3 separate regions of the Homo sapiens genome follow, and regions 1 and 2 are each linked to region 3. Evidence: promoter capture Hi-C in 16 types of primary human blood cells and fetal thymus (Javierre and others, 2016). All regions are on one chromosome and are shown on one strand. Each heading gives the region's core, a stretch centred on a gene start or on the middle of the fragment in contact. The rest is flanking DNA. Distances are from core to core; before and after follow the strand shown. Region 1 overlaps BCL2 (BCL2 apoptosis regulator). Region 2 has its middle 27 kb from the start of SERPINB5. Region 3 holds the start of SERPINB8 (serpin family B member 8).

Region 1 (4,487 bases), core at 575-3,074, 810 kb before region 3:
AGGGCCAAATGCACTGGCTAATTTTGATAGAATGTAACAGAGACAGGAGAAGCAGTCCATCTCAGTGAGTGAGTGGACATTTATTAGGCATTCACTTTTCACAGGCCTGGGATATTAGGTATTGCGGGGGTGTTGTATTCAGGAAATAGAAGTCAAAATCCAATTGAGTAGGGAAATGAGCCAAACAGAAATGGACACAAAGACACCAAAAACACCTACAAAAACACAGATGAATGTGCAGAATCAGCTGGAGTTTCTATGAGCTGAGCTGAATCTGCTCACCTTGCAAAGATTTCCCCGCACAGTGGGGACTGCCCACGCGTACGCATTTCTTAGTTTCTGCTGGCCAACTCGAATCGTTTTCAGCGGGGTCATTTACATCGTGTCCACTTTTTCTGGTTTCCAAACTCAACCCACTTTATTATCTTAAGAGTTTTCATTCTCAGTATCATTTACATACAACAAAATGAATATATCATGTGTACAGTTTTATGAATATTGACAAAGGCATACATCCCTTTAACTCACTCCCCTATCAAGATATGCAGCATTTCCATCCTCCCAGAAAGAGCCCTTGGAGCCACTTTGTTTTTAAATTATTTGCATCTGAATATTTTTGAGTGGAGATTATCAAAGCCAAATGTGTGGGAAGAAAGCCTAATCATTAATCATCTACTACAAATACAGGTAGTAAAGGTTTTGAAGATGGTGCGTGAGCCTGCACAGACAAGTCTGCGGGATTGGGTCCTGTTATGAAATGCCAAAGGGGCTTTTTAGCGACAGGCACGTGGGCCCCTCTCAGCCGCCCTGTCGGCACTCAGATACGCAACTAAGACCGAGTGGGTTTCTTTTCTGGTTTTGTTCTTTAGGCATCAGAGTTTACATGTTTAGAAAGAGGGAAGTTGAGGCTGAATAGTCACATCCACCATATTCTCATAGGGGCAAATGTTCTCTGATTAGGAGGGCTCAACCACAGTGCAGAGTCCCCTCTTCCAAAATTCTGTTTCAACACCGAGAGGAGTTCACATGACCAGGCAAATTAGAGATTTTCTTAGCATTTCCTGTTTCCCAGATTTCAGAGGAGCCCTTCAGGGAATGTCTGGCCCAGGGTAGCACATTCAGGATGAGGGAAAAATGGTTATTTTTAGGTCCCTCCAACCATCACATTCCTCCCTGTCTCCACTTGGGCACTCTGTTGTTCTAGTGACCTGTCAAAGGGATGGGGGCGGGGCTGCGAGAAAAAAGCCACATCGCTTCCTTTGGGGTGGGGGTAAGGGTACCCCTGCTCCAGGGGTCCTAAACTGCTCACTAGCCCTTCTGCTGGAGAGGGACCAGAGGTGGAAGACCTGCCAGAGTGAGTGCCAGGCAGCTCTAGACTTCTGGGTATTCATTTCTCATAAAAGGTTGCAGTATTTCCTGGACACCTGAATTCTATGTCTTCACGGCAAAAACAATTCAAAATGTCCCAAAACATTATGCAGGAAGGAGTTTTTAATTTTTTTTAAATCACTTTTCCAAAATGGTACCCTGAGGTGATCCTGTCTTCAATCTCCCAGCAATGAAAACAATGTGGTTGAAAAGTTGACAGCTTTCAACCCTTGAAAAGGTCACCTCCCTGCCTCACACCCTCTCGTAAGTATTAAGAGCATAACGGATATTTTGAGTCACATGTATTGTTCTTTGTTCATTTGCATTTGGTGAAATCCCCCCCTTGGACCAATTTAGTAAGCAGTGCCTTGGGCTTCCTTGGTGATTGTTCTCTTGTCTTCTGTATATTTTTTCCTGTGAAAAAAATTTAGACTCAGCCAGTGAAATGAAGTTGCAGCCTCTGTCACTGATGCTTTCTTTTTGCTCAGATGATCTTTCCATCTCGCTTGGGACAGAATTCCTTCTTCTTTGCAACGAATGAAGACCTTCGAGGCTCAGCTGAGGCCCTTGTACTCCAAGACTTTCTGAAAGCTCCCTCGCCCCTCCCCATCTGACCTTCTGTTGGACTGACATACTTCTCCATATTTCAGCCTCAGATGGCTTGGTGTTCACCACTAGACTGTGTTACTGAAAGTTAATCAAGGGTCCTAGGGCCATTTACAAAGTGGGACTGTAAGAGAAAGTCTAGCTAGATGGAAATGTATCCTAAATACCCCCAAGTCCCAGCACAGGGGTTCCCATCAACAAAAAGCCTCACCTCCAAATACATTGCTGAGGACGCAGGGCCCCGTCTTCCCACCTGACGCACTACACACCACGTCAGCTGTCACAGGAGGTCTGAGTGCTTTATGAAGCTGCCTGCTTTCTCTCTTACCTCCATGTGTAAGCCAACCACTCTGGCTTTCAGAAACATATTTCTTTCTCTATGAGTAATTTAAAAGTGACTCATCCTCAGCCTCACCAGCCGGTCCATGTGACCTGCAGTGCTGGTTGAGTGTTATCTATAGATGTGTAAACCAAAGCAGTTCTTAGAACACAGATTCCCCCTCCCACGTGCTGTTGATTTCCCTTTGCTACACAGGGAGGGAACGATGTCAGACATGAGCAGCCAGGGACTGCCCGCTCCGCACTCAAATCTGGAATGTGTCCATTAGAGGAAACAAAGGCCATCACCCAGTGACAGAAAAGAAGAGACAGGCAAAAGGCCTAATATATTTATTTTAGTATTAGCAGACCATCAAGAAGCTCTGAGAAAACTCCACAAAAATTGAAGACGATGATGACCCATATAAACAAAAAACTGCTCAAAGTTCTTTTTCTGAGCCAGTAGAAATTTAGACCTCATGAAACAGAGATGACACCCACACCCACCCCAACCAAAACCCCACCAACACGTCTTCATTGCTCAATCAGAAACACATTCCTGGGATCTGCTGTGGTTTGTCTTGGGAACTCACATATATGAACATGTTTTTATTTCTTCAACTTGCCTTTATTCCACCATCACCAAAGAATGGTGTCAGGCCCAGCTCGGGGACACTACTGGTGCAGGCAGGCACGCGGGTGACACAGCTGGCCAGCATTCTAGATCGTGTTTCTTACCTCTTTCTCACTTCCTATTTTCTATTAAACCAAATCTGAACTCATTTGCCTGCTTTGTGAAGACCTTCATAATCCAGCTACTGTCGCCTGATTTTCTAGCACCATCTATGCTCTTGGCACAATTAATCCTTGGCTACCACTAGGGCAGCATCCTCACTGCTCCTCCAAGGAAGACACCAGAGCCTTCATTTCCATGCCTTCACCCTCCCAAACCCCCAAACTCTGCCCTCCTTCCTTCTTTCCTTCCCTCCTTCCTTCCTTCTTTCCATCCCTCCTTCCTTCCCTCCTTCCTTCCTTTAAATTGAGAAACTTTTGCTCTGTCACTCAGGCTGGAGTGCAGTCGCAATTATAGCTCACTGCAGCCTTGAATTCCCAGGATCAAGTGATCCTCTTGCCTCAACCTCCTGAGTAGCTGGGACTATAGGCATGTGCCACTATGTCTGGCTAGTTTTTGTAGAGATGGGGTCTGGCTATGTTGCCAAGGTTGGTCTTGAACTCCTCGGTTCAAGTCATTGGTCCACCTCGGCCTCCCAAAGTGCTGGGATTACAGGTGTGAGTCACCATGGCTGGCCACCCTTCCTTACCACTGTCTGTATCTTTACCTTCTGGGAGCACTCTTACCTTCATCACCCAAATCTTAACCCATTCTTCCAGCTCAGCTCATCCCACCTGAAAATCTCCTTACCTTCCTCACCTGACCATTCAAGCTGTCACTAATGTCTACATCTCCTAAACTTCTCCAATAGTTCATCACATCTGCTCTTCAGTTTTGTTTTGCTACCTAATATATCACTTCTTATATTTTCCAATATTGTTTGATTGCAAGTTCTTTTGGGAGGGGTATCACATATTTCACTCCTATTGGCCCCACAGTGCCTAGCCCTATAACAGCAGATGAAGCAACCTTTAGATTGAAACAAATATTATTTTAATATTGCCAAAAAGGTGTAATAAGCAAGGTCTTACTAAACTTTTGGCCAGCTGTTAAATTTGATTGCATGTTGCCTGAAAGAGAAACTTTACTTTTTATCCTAGTAGGAAGTTATGTGGAGAGGAATAATGTATTGGATATTCAGTAAAATGAAAAAAAACACACAACAATAGTCATTTATATAGCACTGTGTACAAGCACTGATCTAAGCACTTAACAAATATCCATTCATCTTAAACTTCATAGTGACTTTAAAAAGTAGGCACTATTATATTCCCCACTTCACACATGAGGAGATCAAAGTATTGGAGGGAAGTTGTCCAAAGTCACATAGTGGCTAAGCTAGACTCAAACTCTGGCAATCTGGCAATCAGACTCTTCAGAGTCTGTGCTCTTAGTGGCTGTGCTATATTCCTGTTAATAGGTGTGTGCTTTTATATGGCCTTTTTCATTGAAGCAAAGAGGAGCTTATCTTCTGTATGGATACCATGTTACAGTTATGTGTACTAAATCCATCATGAGTCAA
Region 2 (4,600 bases), core at 20-2,519, 520 kb before region 3:
GTAGTCCCAGCTACTTGGGAGGCTGAGGCAGGAGAATGGCGTGAACCCGGGAGGCGGAGCTTGCAGTGAGCTGAGATCGCGCCACTGCACTCCAGCCTGGGTGACAGAGCGAGACTCTGTCTCCAAAAAAAAAAAAAAAAAAAAAAAAAGATAATGCACTTTTAGCATCATGATGTGGGGACCAGGGGCATCTCCTTTACCTTTACGTTCAAATATATTCTAGAATGTGCACCTCTTACACATCCTGGGCCTGCTCTAAACAAGCTAGATATGCCGCTTATTGGAGTTGCTTCACTGTATTTCTTCTTAACTTCTAAATTTTGAGATAATTAAAGGTTCACAGGAAATTGCAAAGATAGTACGGAGGGCCTCCATTCACTCAGTTTCCCCCAATGGTTACATCTTGTTTATTTATTTATTGGAGATGGAGTCTTACTCTGTAGCCCAGACTGGAGTACAGTGGCACAATATCAGCTCACTGCAAACTCTGCCTCCTGGGTTCAAATGATTCCCCTGCCTCAGCCTCCCGAGTAGCTGGGATTATAGGTGTCCGCCACCACACCCGGCTAATTTTTGTATTTTTAGTTGAGATGGGGTTTGCTAGGCTGGTCTTGAACTCCTGACCTCAGGTGATCCACCCACCTTGGCTTCCCAAAGTGCTGGGATTACGGGTGTGAGCCACTGCGCCTGGCCAGAAACAATTCCTTTAATGAGGTAGTGGGAGAGAAGAGGGGAGTGGGAAATGGTTTTCATGACTCAGTAAGGAATCACTTGAGAGAGCAGCCATGGAACAAACGAGTTAAAGAGGACCACTTCTTAGTGATGGGGACCACCTAACCTGGAGAAGGTTACTGGACTCCTCTGAATTTCAGTTTTCTCATCTGTAAAAATATCATAACAATGTCTAGCTTCACAGTGTTATAAATCCGTACTTCCATATATTAAAGAAAAATAAAAGTAGTGGCTGGGTGAAGTGGCTTACACCTGTAATCCCAGCACTTTGGGAGGCTGAGGTGGACGAAGTGCTTGAGCCCAGGAGTTCGAGACCAGCCTGAGCAACATGGCAAAACCTCACTTCTACAAAAAAATACAAACATTAGGCGGGCATAGTGGTGTGCACCTGTGGTCCCAGCTACTCGGGAGGCTGAGGTGAGAGGATCACCTGAGTCTGGGGAGATCAAGGCTGCAGTGAGCCAAGATAGCAGCACCACACTCCAGCCTGGGAGACAGAGCAGGACCCTGTCTCAAATAAATAAATAAATGAATAAATAAATAAATTAGGCAATTAGTATACATTCTAATTGCCTGGGGAAGTTGTCAAAAATGAAGATTTTGGCTGGGCACAGTGGCTCATGCCTTTAATTTCAGCACTTTGGGAGGCCGAGGTGAGAAGATCATGAGGTCAGGAGATTGAGACCATCCTGGCCAACATGGTGAAACCCCGTCTCTACTAAAAATACAAAAATTAGCTGGGTGTGGTGGCGTGTGGCTGTAATCCCAGCTACTAGGGAGGCTGAGGCACGAGAATCGCTTTAACAAAGGAGGCAGAGGCTGCAGTGAGCCGAGATTGTGCCACTGCCCTCCAGCCTGGCCACAGAGCAGGACCCCATCTCAAAAACACCCAAGGAAAAAAGAAAAAAAAGATTTTAAGGCTCCTTCCAGAAATTCTGACTCAGTCAGCATAGGGTGAGGCTCTGCCCTGGAATCCTCATTCTGTAATCAACCCTGGTGATTCTGTTGAAATTGATTTCTAGATTTCAATTTGAGAATTCTTCTGTCCATTGATTCTGAAACCTGGTTGTGATTTATAATTGCCTGGGAACTTTATTTTATTTTATTTAAAATTTTTTTTTTTTTATTGAGCATTCTTGGGTGTTTCTCGCAGAGGGGGATTTGGCAGGGTCACAGGACAATAATGGAGGGAAGGTCAGCAGATAAACAAGTGAACAAAGGTCTCTGGTTTTCCTAGGCAGAGGACCCTGCGGCCTTCTGCAGTGTTTGTGTCCCTGGGTACTTGAGATTAGGGAGTGGTGATGACTCTTAAGCAGCATGCTGCCTTCAAGCATCTGTTTAACAAAGCACATCTTGCACTGCCCTTACTCCATTTAACCCCGAGTGGACACAGCACATGTTTCAGAGAGCACAGGGTTGGGGGTAAGGTCACAGATCAACAGGATCCCAAGGCAGAAGAATTTTTCTTAGTACAGAACAAAATGAAAAGTCTCCCATGTCTACCTCTTTCTACACAGACACGGCAACCATCCGATTTCTCAATCTTTTCCCCACCTTTCCCCCCTTTCTATTCCACAAAACCGCCATTGTCATCATGGCCCGTTCTCAATGAGCTATTGGGTACACCTCCCAAACGGGGTGGTGGCCAGGCAGAGGGGCTCCTCACTTCCCAGTAGGGGCGGCCGGGCAGAGGCGCCCCTCACCTCCCGGACGGGGCGGCTGGCCGGGCTCGGGGCTGACCCCCACCACCTCCCTCCCGGACGGGGCGGCTGGCCGGGCAGAGGGGCTCCTCACTTCCCAGTAGGGGCGGCCGGGCAGAGGCGCCCCTCACATCCCGGACGGGGCGGCTGGCCGGGCGGGGGGCTGACCCCCCCACCTCCCTCCCGGACGGGGAGCGGCTGGCCGGGCAGAGGGGCTCCTCACTTCGCCTGGGAACCTTAAAAAAATAATGACGCCTGGGCCCCACCACAGATCAATTACACCAGAATTTCTGGGGGTAGAGCTTGGAAACTGTATTCGTTAAATACTCCCAGGTGATTCTAACATGAAGCCAGGGAAGGGAGGATCCTAGCTAGACGACCAAATGTCTAGGGCGATATTGGCATTCAGTTGCATGCATGGGAAGAGTGGTGTTTACTCATGATTTAAGATCGTTATTTAAACCTTACAACAATTCTATGACATTGGTATGATTATCTCTACCTTTTGATTTAAAAAACCCAAGGCTTAGAAAAGTTGCATTATTAATTTGAGCACTGAAACCATCATTGGATTCTGGAGTTAAAGGCCTTTTCTATATATCTTGCTGCCTCCTTCCACTAAGAGAAAAACAAATTTAATTTAGTTTTAGAATTGAAATCAACTGATTATCAAAATGCCTTAATAAGAAATTGCCCCCATTGAAATCTGTTTTTAAGCATTGTGTTATAAACTTAGGTAGGTCACGTGCGTGTAACCTGAGGAATGATCGATGAACTGGACACAACCTTGTCAATGGGTAAAAACAGTGTTGCTGATTTATATGGAATTTTGCTTATGTGGAAAGAAAGTGAAGTCAGGTCGGGAGCAGTGGCTCACACCTGTAATCCCAGAACTTTGGGAGGCTGAGGCGGGGAGATCACTTGAGGTCAGGAGTTCGAGACCAGCCTGGCCAACATGGCAATACCTCGTCTCTACTAAAAATACAAAAATTAGCTGGGCATGGTGGCACGCGCCTGTAATCCCATCTACTCAGGAGGCTGAGGCGTGACTTGCTTGAACCTGGGAGGCAGAGATTGCAGTGAGCTGAGATCCCACTGCTGCACTCCAGCCCAGGTGACAAAGTGAGACTCCATCTCAAAAAAATAGAAAGTGAAATCAATTTGTTGCTGGTGGCAAATCCACATGGGTCTGCAGCAACCTCAGTTCTTGCCTCCTCAGAAGAAAGAATTCGACTGAGGGGCATGAGGCAGAAGGAGAGACTGAGGCAAGTTTTAGAGCAGGAGAGAAAGTTTATTAAAAGCTTTAGAGCAGGAATGAAAGGAAGTAAAATACACTTGGAAGAGGGCCAAGTGGGTGACTTGAGAGATCAAGTGTGCAGTTTGACTTCTGATTTAGGGTGTTATGAGAAACAAACTCACCTGTCCAAACCCAAAGAATGGTCTCAAAGACCCACAGAACAGCGAGAGTGAGACTTTTAATGATGGTCTTGCAAGATTGGGAGTCTGATGGGCAGGCACACCCAGTGCAGTTTCAACAAGCAATTTATCTCCCAGTGCGCAGGTCCCTCCCCTCGTTCCTCATAGTCTGGGAACACATAGTGCTGACAGGCCACTGCATATGTGGACAACTCATACCAAGGGAAGAATCACAGGGGAAGGGATGCAAGACCCTGGAAGTATGCCAACATGTAGCACTGAAGGAAATAATGTACACAGTGATCCATTTCCAAGACAAAGTGCCTTGAATCGGCTTGTTGTGGGATTCAGGAGGACGAGAGAGACCTCGGGTTGAAACAGGAGAATCTTTACCAAGTGCACTCAAGCCCAGCTGACTTACGTCCAAAAGACTCCAGCCTCATAGCCTGGGAACACATAGGCATGGGGTCACAATCTTCCCAGACGTTGCCTATTGATTGTTAAGTAGGGACTTTAGGTGTTTTTCTTTTTTAGGGTTGTCTTGCTGCATTTTGTTGCAGCCCACAATGCATTGCAATCCTAGTCAGCTCTGGGGCTCTTCAAGTATTTGATTTATGACCTAAATAAAAACTGGGCAGGCTGATAAGAACAGACAAAACGAGCTATTTTGCAGGCTAGTAAACTTTCATCTTAGACTACACTTCTTTGGTTTGGGTGAGGGCAATAAAGGGGTGGAGAAGTGGGGGAGGGGG
Region 3 (4,564 bases), core at 1,894-4,393:
TGTTTCTCTAGCATTAATTAGCTGAAGCAAGTGTGTTTTGTTTTTGCTTTTTGTGTTTTTTTACACTTTCTCAAAACCAGGGAAGATTGCTGGGAATCTCATGGGAGATTGAGAGCTGTGGCCGGGCATATATGAAGTAACTTTTGCTAGAGTATATGGTCAGTCACTGAAGGATATTTTGGAACTCCGGTGAGACTCTTTGTTTTTTGTTTGTTTGTTTGAGACAGTCTCGCTCTGTTGCCCAGGCTGGAGTGCAGTGGCACAATCTCAACTCACTGCAACCTCCCGAGGTTCAAGCAGTTCTCCTGCTTCAGTGCCCCCTAGTAGCTGGGGTTACAGGCACCTGCCACCACGCCTGGCTCATTTTTGTATTTTTAGCAGAGACGGGGTTTCACCACGTTGGCCAGGCTGGTCTGGAACTCCTGACCTCAGGTGATCCGCCCGCCTCGGCCTCCAAAAGTGCTGGGATTACAGGCATGAGCCACTGTGCCCTGCCCCGTGAGATTCTTTAAGGTGGAGTATTTGTGCATTTTACAGCAAGGAGTACAGAGACCTCGAATCACCCCAGGAAGCTCCAATTATGCCTGGACTCTACTTCCTTCTTGACAAGTGGAAGTCTAATTTGGAGACGGTGGTAGCTCAACCTGAGACTAGCCTAGGAGTGTGCCCTTCCTGAGGTCCACAAAGTCAGGAGCCGAGGGAGTCAGACAAAACTAGGTCAAGGTTGAGTCGGGAGTTGAGAACCAGCAGATACTCCCTAGTACTGACTGAAGAGATGTGAAGTTAGGTATGAGGCAAGAAGACAGAAGATGAGGCTGAGGACAGTTTCTGAGGCACTGAATTATATACTCTGGAACCTTATCAGTTACCTGTTGTGTCCCCAGTGGGCCAGGGTGGAGTGGGGAGCCTGTTCAGGCTCACTCTGAAATTGGGCTTTAGTTATTCTGAGAGATGGGTTTCCCTTCAGGGCCCAGCATTTAAATTGTCCATACTCAGAAAATAAATACAATTAATCCTCGTGAATATCGACTTGCAGACAAATTCCTTACCTAGGAAAACAGACCAGTTCTACTTTTCATTGCATTATTTCAAAAATTAGATTTGTTCATTCTTGGATTCATCTTTGATTCTTCCTGCTCCCTCTTCCTCTCATGGTCCAAGAAGTGATGCCAAATTTATGTCCTGGAAATTCCTCAAGGCCATGTCCTCCTCTCCATTTCTCCTGCCTCTGTTTCATTTCAGCTTTCCTCATCTCTCATCCATGCTGCGTCCTTAACGCCTCACTGCAGGCAATGGTACCCTCCTACAATATACTCCATGTTGCAGCCAGAGGGACCTTCGTAAATACAAATATGATTATGTTTCTCCCCAGCTTAAAATCCTTTTGTGTTTCCCCATAGTCCACAAGGGAACGAAGAAACACCACCAACAGCGTCCACATGGCCTTCACGACATGGCCCTGTGGACACATCAGACGTTGTCTTGCAGTGCCTCATCCACACTATCTGTACCACTGCAGGCCTGGATACGTCATGGTTTTCATGGTGCTATCTTGTGCCTCTTTGCACCTGCACGCACTGTGTTTCCTACATGGGATATCTGTGTTTACAACCAAACTCCCAGGGGCCAAATTATATCCTTTGTAAAGGACTTCAAACCACCAGGCATTTGCTGGAAGTTTCACGGAGGAAAACAAGCATTTTTCATCTTTTAATCTGTTTTGCTGGTCAAAGAGGAAAAGGAGTGGATGGACAAAGTGGGGCCCAAAGTCTGGATCTAGTTCTGACCAACAAGGAGAAATTGATGCACAATGGGGAAGTGACCTTGGCATTTTCAACTGGCAGAGCCGGTAAGTTTGGGCACAGTTCAAATGTGAGTCTGTAGCCACTAGAGAGAGGGGTTTCAAAGTCATGGAGAAAAGATGGGGGTGAATCCTGCACCAAGACTTATTGAGGAGAGTTCTTGGGAACAGTTACTTTTAGGATTCCACAGGGAAATCACTGAGCGAGTTTTACAAAATACTGCTGCTGGGTTCCCTCCTCCAAGAGATCTTTACTTAATTGGTTTGGGGTGCAGAGTGGGAATGTGCATCTTTAAAAGCAGAATTCCCAAACTGGAGAGCTCTGTGAGAGCTTCCTGCAGGAGACATTATTTGAACTGAATTTTGAAAGACAAGCTTGCATGCCAGGAACCCCATGTATATGAACAGAGGATATGAAGGAATGTAAATAATTTGCTATGGCTCTAAAGAAAAGAAGGGAGAAATCAAGACGTGAAGAGGCTTACACTCCTTGCTCAATAGTTTCTAATTTATCTTTTTGGATAAGAGGATGTTATAAAGGATTTTAAACTGAGGTATAAAATAATTAGAATTGGAATGTTTACCTGAACTTCAGAGTAGGCAATAGGTTGGCATGGATCAGAACTGTAGGTAGGAAAATTAATTGTTTAGGAGAGACATGAGACATGATAGAGGTGACAGAGTATGGACAGGAGGAACACAAAAGTGATAGAAGTAACAGGACTGTTGATCATTTAGTTAAAAGAACTGCGGAGGGACACACCCAGGTTTCTGAGAGATGTCCAGTAGTACACAGGTAACATCTACGGCTCGAGACAGGTTAGAGATTTTGAAGAAATAAGTTAAAAGTTGAAACATGAACCTATGGATATAGTGGAGGTCATACAAGAAGATCATATTATAATGAAAAGAAGAGGGCTTAGAATGGTAGGAAAGGAATCAGGATACCAAGCAAAGGAGTCAGGAAAGAAGGGAAGGGTGCTCTGGAAATCCTGGGAAGGTCAAAGAAGAAAGGGCTAAATGTCGCCAACAAACAAAATGAAATAAGACCTGGGATGTATTTTTTGGCCAAGGCAATTAGAAAATGATTAGTATCCTTATCAGGAGCAATTTCAGAGAATGTTTGGGTGGACGTCTAACTACAGTGGAGTCAAACGTGAATCAACGGTGAAAAAAGGACAATAGCCAATGTGTACACTTTTTATAAAAACCACCCTCCAAGGACCAGGCACTGGCCCTCTCTCCGGTGCCCACAGACATCCACACAGGCCCAAAGAATCAGGGATTGCACAAGCCAGAGCAATCGAACGGTTCTGAGTCATCTGCCGGAAGCCTTGCCCTCAATCAAGGCGGACGTGAAGCATCTACAAAGGAGGAATAGTCAAAGCAGCAGCGGCGGCGGCGGCGGCGGCAGCAGCAGCAGCAGCAGGAGGTGGGGGCCTCTGCCAGGTACCGGGCGGGGCAGGCACGGAGGTGCCCAGGTTCCCGCGGAGGCCACCTCTTCCCTGGAGTGCGTGAGAGAGGGGAAGGGAGGAAGGCCAGAGCAGGAATCAGAGCGAGGCAAAGGCGGGCAGGAACTAGGAGAATGACGGCGGGAGGCGGCCGGGAAAGAGAGTCGCGGGGCTGTGGGGGTCGCCCTGGCACCAGCCGGGGTCCCAAGCCCCACCGCGAGACCCGGCGAAGGCCGAGGGCCGGGTCCCGAGAACAGGTGCGCCCAGACCCGCCCTGAATAGGAAGCTGCCCCTGGAGAGGGAGCGTCTGTTTCTAGGCTTGCGATTTGCTGCGCTGTGATTTGCTGCCGGATGGGAGCGGGGGGTGACGCGAGCAGTGAGTTTGGAAGCGCCGGAAGCTTGGGCGGGAGCCCCGGGAGGGCGAGTGGGAGGAGCCGCCGCTGCGGAGGAGGCTCCGGGAGTGCGGGTGGCGGGGCCTGGAATTTCCGTGGCGCCTGGGGCAGATCGGGGAGGCGCCGAGTCCCTGCTCCCCTGGCGCCCAAGCTTGCCCCTGTGCTTACAGCCTATTGGTTGCACCTTCTCCTTCCCTTCCTGTCCCCCCCCTCCGTTCTTTCCACCCCTGCCTTCATCTTTCTGTATCTTTCATATTCTCTTCTTCATTGTCTGCTTCCTCTCAAATGGGATGGGGTTGGGGGTGCTTCTTCACCTACGCCCCTCTCTGTTGCAGCCACCGGCGTTACTTTAACCAATTCCTCACTTTCCAGACACTCTCAGTCCTCTGGCTGCTGCTTCACTCCTGAGACCTCTCCATTCCAAAGGGCCTCACCCAGGGCTGCTCTCCGGGCCCCTCCCGCTTCCCTGCCTCGGGCTCTGCGTAGACCGCGCCCTCTTCCCTGGGTCCACTCGCAGGGGCAGACTCGTCTCCCCAGTTCTCCCAGCACACCCTGATGGCTGGGTCTCAGTCTCCGTTTCGCGCGCGCGCTCTCCCCTCGCCCTCCTCTGTCTCTTCCTTTTACTACCTCCAGATATTGGAAATTCCACAGAAATAGGTGGATTTCTTCCCTTGTGCCTCCACTAGATGTTCTGTGTAGTTTCATCCATTCTCATGGAACCTCTCGGAATCGGGATGCTGATGGCTCCAGGTCTCTGGCTCTAGACAGTCTACTCATCCCCGTCCCTAACTGTTTACAAACATCCTTGGCTGTCTTTGTTACAGGTTCACCTGGTATGGTGTGTTCCACGCATCTCAAATGGAACAAGTCATATTCCCCATTCCAGCCTGACTCCTCATTTAAAATTCCAGTGGTTCACG

The links. Contacts are between HindIII fragments. The CHiCAGO score rates a contact against its expected background, and 5 or more counts as called.
Region 1: a fragment that was not itself captured here is called in contact with the fragment with the promoter of SERPINB8 in region 3 in 1 of 17 cell types (non-activated CD4 T cells); the score reaches 5.0 in non-activated CD4 T cells.
Region 2: a fragment that was not itself captured here is called in contact with the fragment with the promoter of SERPINB8 in region 3 in 1 of 17 cell types (monocytes); the score reaches 5.2 in monocytes.

Annotation. Positions count from the first base shown.
Region 1 is chr18:63,159,544-63,164,030 of GRCh38, forward strand. All of the region lies in intron 2 of BCL2 (BCL2 apoptosis regulator), which reads right to left. Among named protein-coding and RNA genes, the nearest start is that of BCL2, 160 kb to the right of the region's middle. RefSeq lists enhancers at 1,288-1,407, 1,818-2,057, 2,148-2,437, 2,638-2,687. The HindIII fragment of the contact is 5,416 bases long and covers 1-4,487 here.
Region 2 is chr18:63,447,934-63,452,533 of GRCh38, forward strand. No RefSeq gene overlaps it. Among named protein-coding and RNA genes, the nearest start is that of SERPINB5, 27 kb to the right of the region's middle. The HindIII fragment of the contact is 4,924 bases long and covers 1-3,731 here.
Region 3 is chr18:63,966,938-63,971,501 of GRCh38, forward strand. SERPINB8 (serpin family B member 8) reads left to right here and starts at 3,144. Exons shown (of 7, transcript NM_002640.4): 1 at 3,144-3,233. LOC105372165 (a long non-coding RNA gene) reads right to left here and starts at 3,567. Exons shown (of 3, transcript XR_935576.3): 1 at 2,386-3,567; 2 at 1,050-1,336. It also overlaps a transcript of HMSD not described here. RefSeq lists enhancers at 2,976-3,025, 3,056-3,225, 3,518-3,812 and silencers at 3,286-3,485, 3,496-3,555, 3,626-3,845. The HindIII fragment of the contact is 1,474 bases long and covers 2,175-3,648 here.